Regions from separate parts of the Homo sapiens genome. Here region 1 is linked to region 2. Evidence: promoter capture Hi-C in 16 types of primary human blood cells and fetal thymus (Javierre and others, 2016). All regions are on one chromosome and are shown on one strand. Each heading gives the region's core, a stretch centred on a gene start or on the middle of the fragment in contact. The rest is flanking DNA. Distances are from core to core; before and after follow the strand shown.

Region 1 (4,448 bases), core at 280-2,779, 260 kb before region 2:
CATCAATGAGGCCCCCAGAAAACCATCACATGATGGAGTTCAAAAAGCTTTCAGGTTGGTGAGCTCACCGAGGAGCTGGGAGGGTGCTGTGCCTGGAGACAGCATGGAAGCTTCTCTTTACCCTACCCCCTAGTACCTTGTCCTATGTGTCTCTGCCATTTGTTCCTAAGTTGTATCTTGGTAATAAACTGGTAATAGGGAGTAATGTGTTTCCCTTAATCTGTGAGTCATTACAGCAAATTATCAAACTAGAGGGGGGGAATGGGGGAACCTCTGATTTGCAGCCAAGATGGAGAGAAGTGTGGGTAACCTGGGGACCCACTACTTGTGATTGGTGTCTGAAGTGGGGCAGTCTTGGGAGGGTAAGCTCTTTAATTTGGGGAGTCTGCCCAGACTCCAGGTAGATAGTGTCAGAAGTGGATTAAATTGTAGGACACCCAGCTGGTGTCCCCACAGAATTGGGGAATTTGGTGTCGATAACTACACATTTGGTATTAGAAGCATTGTGTGAATATGGAGGACTTTTGTTTTAACAGGACAGTGTTAGGAAAAATTAAACCCAGTACGCCTCACCACCCAGAGGCACCTGTGTTAACAATCTCACTCCTGCCTTTTTCATACATCATATTGTACATATCATCTCCTCAAGCGTGATTTTCAGTTGCTTCGTCACATCCCATGCATGGATGTAACCACGTTCTCCACATCTCCAACTTCCATAACTGTCATTCTCCATAGAAACAGAGTAAAACATGGAAATTAGTTTCAAAGGCTTTATTAATATATAGATTCTTAGTTGCAAAATGGAGACCATCTTGGGATCTTAACCTTCCTTTGATAATATTGTTCCAATTGAGTTCTATGTTACAGCATAACAAAAACTAATTTAGAAACCTAACTGCAGGTTAGAAACAGTTCCTACTTACTATAGAAGACTGTTTACCTATTTCAATCATGTGACCATTCTCAAAACAGGTTTAGGAATTGCCTCAGAAGCCCAAGGTAGCAGCCTGAATGGAAGAAAACCTTCTTGCAGGTAGATTTATTTAGCCTTTGGAATCAGCCGATTCAGAACCAAGACTGTGACTGAGTTGTGGAATGTTACTTGGGGACAAGGCTCTCAAGGAAGGGGGCTGTTTTCCTGTGTGGCCTGGAAACTGGTTCAAACAGCAGTTCTCAAAGAGAATTCCCCAGGACAGGGGCCAGAATATCCTCCGCCTCCCACTTCCAGGACAATCGCCTAGTCGTCCTTCAAGCCTCAGTAAAAGGATCTCTTCCTCTAGGACGACTTTACTACTGACTCATCCAGATAATTCCTCCCTCCACTGGGCGCTTGTGGTACACTGTCCTTATTCCGCTACTGTCTTCATGTATTTCCACATTTCCAGCAGTCAGCATAGCAGCTCACCCAAGAAGGATGCCCATGCATTGTTGAAAGAAGGGATGGGGCCAGGAAGCTCAGCTAGGTGCTGTTACGTTCACGTAAAACTAGAATCAGCAAATTAGAAGTGGGTCATGGCCTTCTACAAATGAGTGTCTAAACAGCAGAGAAGCAAACTGAAAGAAAAAACAAGCAGCAAGAAAAGAGAGCATTTATCTAGAAAGGAAAAATCCAGAAACTAAACAAATACAGAGATCTGAGACCATTGTGTGTAGAGTCCAATAGTCCAATGGGCACACTAGTCATCTGGAAGCCACTGTCCTGGCAGAGGGTAGACCTGAGTGTTGCTGGTGACAAAGATAAATGGTCACCTTGGATCAAGATGAAGATGCAATTTAAACACAACCTAGTTTTTTTTTAAGTCTTCTGTAGTTTGAGGAGTCAATACAATTATTCCTCCCTCTTTCCTAGCCTGTTCTCCAGCATTTAAAGATAGAAACAAAGAAAATTATGGAATACATCAGTCTAAAACTAAACCTACAGGCAGGAGCCAGATCCTTTGGAGAGCATGCAACAAGCAGATTTCCTTCAAGATAAAATGAAGTATTTCATGCTACAGGGTTTTTGGGTGGCCCTCCCACTGGGAGCTTCTGCTACAACAGAACCTGGCTTGTGCATTTAAAACCTAAAAGCAGGAGGATTTACATTTGCCACACAGCTTGCTTCCAACACTACTGAACACACTTCCAGATGATGCAGGGAAAGCTCTTGAAGATTTTAAAAAAAAAAACATGTGATTACAAACTATTGTATAACTTTGAATTTTTATAAAGACATAACGGAGCCCTCACAAAACGAAAAGTTTGCCAGGCATGGTGGCTCATGCCTGTAATCCCAGCACTTCGGGAGGCTAAGGAGGGCGATCACCTGAGGTCAGGAGTTCAAGACCAGCCTAGCCAACATGGAGAAACACCACCTCTACTAAAAAATACAAAAAAAACTTAGCCAGGCATGATGTTGTGCACCTGTAATCCCAGCCACTCAGGGGGCTGAGGCAGGAGAATCACTTGAACCCAGGAGGCAGAGATTGCAGTGAGCCAAAATCATGCCACTGCACTCCACCCTGGGCAACAGAGCGAGACTCCATCTCACACACACAAAAAAAAGACAAGAAAAATTAATTCCAATTCAAAGAAAGAGTCCAGGGCTGGGCATTGTGGCTTATGCCTGTAATCTTAGCACTTTGAAAGGGCAATGAAGAAGGATAACTTGAGGCCAGGAGGTTGAAGCTGCAGTGAGCCATGATTGCACCACTGCATTCCAGCCTGGGTGACAGAGTGAGACTCTGTTGAAAAGAAGAGTCCAGAACAGTTATGGCCAACAGATGTATATTCAGCAACCTCACTCACTCTAAGAAGTCCAGCTTCAGGGAGTATATTTACAGACCAGGTGGAGCAGGGCCTTGGACTGGTTAACACAGAGACTGGCTGTGCACAAAGGTCAATTGCTGATGGCAGAGTGAGTCTTCCAAAGATTAGATGCAAGCCATTTGGAAGTGTTGACACTATAAGCTTTAGTGTTGAGGACCCACGAGATGATGAGATTATTTTCTCTAAATCAGTGAATAACTATTCAAATGCTTTTTAATAGTGATACAAACTCCAAGTTAACAGGTTAATCTGAATTTTTTGCTGTTTTCCGTTGATCACCTTTTGAAGAAAGGACCTTTTCCCAAGTCTAAGAAGCTACCCACAGGAAAGTAAATAATCACTAAAGAAATAGAAGATTGTCTTCAAGATTCAGGACTTTTTGGATTCCTGAAAATTCTATATCAAAACCTAACTGATGGGAAGACCAAAACCAGGTGTGTGACATTTATTTAATAAACTAGATTTGTCTGATTTATTCCAGAATGGCAGAGTTTCGGTGGGAGGCATCTATAGCATCGGGTCTTAAAAAGTGGTCCCAGACTCCTGGAGGCTCCTGAGACTACACTGTGAGGTTTGCAAGATCAAAACTATTTTCATCACAATACTTAGATGTTATTTCCTTTTTTCTTTGGGGATACTTGAACAGATGGTGGAAAAGCAATGGTGGGTGAGATGGGTTGACCTTACCACAGTATCAAGGCATTGGCATCAAACTGCACAACTTGTCACTGGGGACATCACCACCCCATACTTGGAGGAGTGTGGATGATTTGTCTAGTGCTATCTGTGGAGTGTTGAAGTCCCCCACTATTATTATGTTACTGTCTATCTCTTTTCTTAGGTCTAATGGTAATATTTTTATGAATCTGAGAGCTCAGATTTTATTATATGTAAAAATGCATATATATTTAGGATTGTTATGTCTTCTGATTGAATTGGTCCTTTTATCATTATATAATGTCATTCCTTGTCTGTTTTTACTGTTGTTGCTTTAAAGCCTGTTTTATCTGATATAAGAATAGCTATTCCTGCTCATTTTGTTTTCCAATTGCACAAAATATCCTTTCCCACCCCTTTACCTTGAGTCTATATGAACCCTCACATGTTAGTTGTGTCTCTTGAAGACAGCAGATATTTGGTTTGTAATTTTTTATCCATTCTGCCAATCTGTATCTTTTAAGTGGAGAATCTAGGTCATTTATATTCAACATTAACATTGTGATGTAGGTTACTGTTTCAGTCATTGTATTGATTGTTACCTAGTAACTTTTTTTTCTCCGTTGTGTTATTGTTTTATAAACCCTGTAAATTCTATGCTCTCAGGAGTTTCTGTTCTGTGTGTATCAACCTTTAGTTTCAAGATTTAGAACTCCTTTTCACATTTCTTTCAGGACTGGTTTAATATTAACAAATTCCCTCAGAATTTGCTTGTCTGAGAAAGATTTTATTTCTCCTTTATTTATGAAACTTAGCTTTGCTGGATACAAAATTCTTGACTGACAATTATTCTGTTTGGAGGAGACTAAAGATGGGACTCCATTGCATTCTGTCATGTAATGTTTCTGCTGAGAAGTCTGCTGTTAGTCTGATAGGTTTTCCTTTGTAGGTTACCTGGTGCTTTTGTCTGACTGCTCTTA
Region 2 (4,391 bases), core at 1,669-4,168:
TCTGTGCTTTTTCAAAAACGTTTGTTTGTAATGTTAAATATGTTTAGAGGTTTAATCATCCCCAAATGTGCTTATTTGATGCTAGCACTTCTGTGCATCAGTTTCTTCATATACAATAAAGAAATTACATTAGAACCTACATCATGTGATGTTCAATTAAATGGTTGTACATGTCACTAATTTGCCTAGCACATAGTAAATGCTCATTATGGGTAAGCTTTTCATTGTTGTTTTAAAACTACACTGAATTTACTGACAGATTCAAGTCTCTAAACAATAAAAATACTAATTTGCAAGCGACACAAAAAAAAAATCTAAATTCAACTTGTTTTTCCACAGAAAGCTAACACCATGGCAAAGTAGCAGAAGAGACAATTCCTAAACCTATACAAACTAATAATCAGAAGAGTTTGTTAGTAGGTTCTTGGAGTCTTCAGTGTTCCTGTTCTAGCCTGTGATCTTAAAAATTTGAATAAACTATGCAATGGCCTGTCTGTTCTCCATCTGAACCTTTGGAGTCTAAGAATCTCTCTTCCTACCCAGGTCATGTGACCAAACACTTAGGAATTATTTCTAAATTATAAAATCTTGCATGAAGATATATTCAAGGAGTACTGTATAAAAAAGCAAAAGGACTGCCACTGGAGATGAAATGTTTATATTTTTCCTTTTCAAGAGAAAGGTATCTATGGAAAGTGAAAAGCTTCCTTAACCCCAATAAAATAATTTGATTTTAAGGTAACAGGACATCAGAGCAAAGGAAAGACTATCCCTTACAACTGAGAATTTGTTTGGCAGGAGGACGACTATAGATGGGTGTTTCTGAGCTTTGGCACTGTTGACATCTTGGGCCAGATGCTTCTGTATTGTGGGGGCTGCCCTGAGCCTGGTAGGATGCCCACCCTGACCTCTCCTCCGCGATGACAGCGCATGCCCCTGTCCTATATTGTGACATGGAAATTCAAATGAATCCTGGAAGGTTAGATGACCCTCCTGTGAGAACCACTGTTCTCAAGAGATTGCAAATCCATGGCTCCAGCCCATGTTTCTACTGACCCTTGCCAGAATGCTAGGTATTGATCACACCCCCTATGCCAGACACCATCCCTGGCCCTACACACGTGATTAGTAACAAGACAGTCTTTGCCTTTGGGGAGCTCAGCCTAGTGGGAGACAAACCCACAACTCACCCCTGAAGCTGTGGGGTTGGAAATACAAGTTTTCATGCAAGGCTTCCTCAGAGGTGACATTTCACCTGATGCCTGAATGATGGAAATCACACAAGCTTGAGGAAGGGGAGAACTTTCCCATTGTAAACTTCCAAGTGTGTAAGAAGTACCAAGGTGAACAAAGGCTTGGAATGCCTTAGGCGGGAGGAACAAGGTAGGGGATGGGGTTGGGAGGACAGGGTGAGGCCGGGATGGGGTTGGGAGGACAGGGTGAGGCCTGAATCCCGTGTGGTCTGGGAAATGACCACACGGGAAATGACCCCCCTTCTCAGGCCTCTAGTGGGACACATGTCAGAGGCTGATGGGGCACTGTCAGCAACTATACCTGTTATACAGGGACAGGGTTATTACCACCACCAAACAGGACAGCAATATAAGAGGAAACGTTCTCGAATTCCAGGCAGGAAGACTTTCTGTCCCATTTTCCTATTGCCACAAGGAGCCAAGAGACAAGTGTATGGCTTCCTTCCTTCATTCTCTGTGTCCCCAGTGGCCAGGGATGCCCACTGTGGAGGCACCCGGGGGCGCACAGTGTCTTCAGACGCCTGCCTGCAGCCAGTGACATATGAAGATCATCTACATCTTTCTTTACCGCAACATTAGCAAATCGATTTTTTTAATTGGCTTGATTTTTAAAACCACTTAAACATACAAACTAGCATCAAATTTATACTTACAAAACAAAAAAACACAACTATGTCAACTTAGTAACGAATGGGAGAAGCACCAAGGAAAAGTGACGGCAGGACCCAATCCTAGAGCGCGTTTCTGGACTTTATTCTGTGACTAAGGTATTTTCCTCTTTCTCAGCTAAAACGTCCGCGCGCGCCCGCGGGGCTCACCTTCCAAACAAGCAGGTGCTGAGGCTCAGGGGAAAGTGGGGACCGTCGACCCCGCTCCTTTTGATAGTAACCAGGCGTCTCGTGGGCCACATTTTCTAAACAGTAAGTTGAGTATAATCCGTAGGGGAAGGCCAGGTATAATCCGTAGGGGAAGGCCAGAAGCAAATTTACAACTCTTCCACTGCAAAAGAGGTGCGAGTTACTCTGATAGCAAAGGAGCTAAGAAGGGCCCCGTGCCCAATTCACCTATCCCCGGCCACAGAAGCGCACACCGCAGCTAGCTAGCGGGGACCCCAGGACGATCCGACCGCAGCCCCCGGCGCCCCAAAGTCCGGCAGCTGGGGTGTTGTCGCCAGCGCCTGCGCCTCCTGGGAGCTTCCACCGAGACGCCCTCGCCAGAGCCCAGGAGGAGTCGGGCCCAGGCCGCGCGTCTGTCCCCTGCCCGTCCCCGCAGAGCTCGGGGGGTCCCCGCGGCTCAGCCCTCGACCCCGGACAGCTCCCAGGAGTCCCGGCCGCAGCTCACCTGGGACGATCCGGCCCGCAAGGCCACTTGTCGAACCACCGCTCGTCAAGTCGCACCCAAAGTCCGCCGCAGGAGGAGCCGGCGCCGCGCTCACCTCCGCCCGGTAAGCTGCGCCCGCCACGCTCCGCACACACCGGGCCGCAGCCCGCGGGGTCGCGTTCGCTGCACCCCGGCCTGCAGTCCCCGCTGCTCCCGCCGCCGCCTCTGACGGGGACCCGGTGGCCCTACAGGCTACGTCCCCGGGCGCCCGGCTCTAGCGGCTCCCACCGAGTCGAGTCCTCCCGCCCGCCCGCCCGCCCGCAGCGTCAGCCCTCCACTTCCTTCTTCCAGCCCGGCGCGCCCGCCCAATTCAAACGAAAACGAAGATTCAAATTCTGGCGCTAAGCGCTGCGATTGAACGGGAAAGCGCGGCATGGGACCAATAGGAAGGGAGCGCAGGGCGTGGGCGGGGAGGGGGCGGGGAAACCGGGCTCGCGGGGCGGGGCTGGCGTGTCCGCGGGCGAGCCACTCACGCATCCGGAGGAAAATACCTGGGTGCATCCCCGGCGAGGGCGGCTGGCGGAGGGCAGAGGTGGAACACGCTCCCACCGAGATAACCCGTCCTGCTATCCTTTTCTTAAAGGACCAAACATCTGGGACACTATAACATTACTCATTGCCAGAAGATTTAAAACTGCTAAAAATTAAAAACAGGCGGGACGCGGTGGCTCACGCCGGTAATCCCCGCACTTTGGGAAGCTGAAGCAGGAAGATCCCTTGAGCCCGGGAGTTCAGAACCAGCCTGGGCCACCTGGAGAGAACCCATCTCTACAAAAAATTCGCCAGGCGTGGTGGCGCCCCTGTAGTTCTAGCTACTGGGACAGCTGAGGTGGGAGGATCGCTTGAGCCGGGGCGGTCGAGGCTGCAGTGAGCTGAGATCGCGCCACTGCACTCCAGCCTGGGCGACAGAGCAAAGCCCTGTCTCAAAAAAAAAAAAAAAAAAAAAAAAAAAATCGAAACCTTCCTCTTCAGTGCATACATCTTACCAAACACAAAAACAACCAATTATATAAAGTAGTTTGGTGTGTCTTTTCCTGCTATACGTGTATTCTCTTTTTCAAAAGCACAGAAAAAAAGGTCATAACATACACAACACGATTCTATACTTTGTGCTCTCTGCTTTTAAATATCCTGAGGCTATCTCCACTGAACACATTCTCGCTTTTACTCTCTGATGGCTGCAGAGCACTGGGCTTCGGGAAACCATAATTTACTTAATCATTACTATTGCCACATACTTAGGTTTACAATGTTTTGTTATTAGAAAACATTCTTCAATTGAAATGGCTTGTGCATGCCAAGATGGGTGAATCCTAAAATAATTCTACACAGGATTCTATCGGGGTCTGCTTCAGTTGCGCTGGTGGCCATGTGGGCTCAGTAGGCCACCTGGGGTGAAGTGAATGGAGCCTAAACACGCTTTTGGTGACAACGGCCTCTCTGCCCCATCTCACCTCCTCCAGCTCCCCAGCAACCCTTGGAGCTTGGCTCCCTTGATCAGGGAGGCCTCGATGCAGGGGACCCCTGAGGACTTCCTATTCCTTTCAGAGAGTCCATAAGGTCAAAACCATTTATCTAATGACCCTCTGTGTTACTTGCCCTTCTCATTCTCATGCTCCCAAGAGTGTGGGGTGTGGTTCTGCAAATGCAGAAGCAGTGAGGAGACTCCCACTGTCTCCGTTTCAACCAGGTATTACAGAGATTTGCAAAAATGTGAACTAAAGCGCTGTTTTCATTTTGTTGTTTTTTTTCCATAAA

The links. The method cuts DNA at HindIII sites, captures the fragments that hold promoters and counts their contacts. A CHiCAGO score of 5 or more calls a contact.
Region 1: a contact is called between a fragment that was not itself captured here and the fragment with the promoter of MKI67 in region 2, in 1 of 17 cell types (neutrophils). The highest score is 6.7, in neutrophils.

The regions. Positions count from the first base shown.
Region 1 is chr10:127,865,154-127,869,601 of GRCh38, forward strand. It overlaps the pseudogene BUB1P1. Among named protein-coding and RNA genes, the nearest start is that of CLRN3, 26 kb to the right of the region's middle. The HindIII fragment of the contact is 2,842 bases long and covers 109-2,950 here.
Region 2 is chr10:128,123,505-128,127,895 of GRCh38, forward strand. It overlaps MKI67 (marker of proliferation Ki-67), which reads right to left and starts at 2,919. Exons shown (of 15, transcript NM_002417.5): 1 at 2,595-2,919; 2 at 2,072-2,252. The coding sequence starts at 2,163. RefSeq lists a silencer at 2,699-3,068 and an enhancer at 3,179-3,408. The HindIII fragment of the contact is 8,920 bases long and covers 1,284-4,391 here.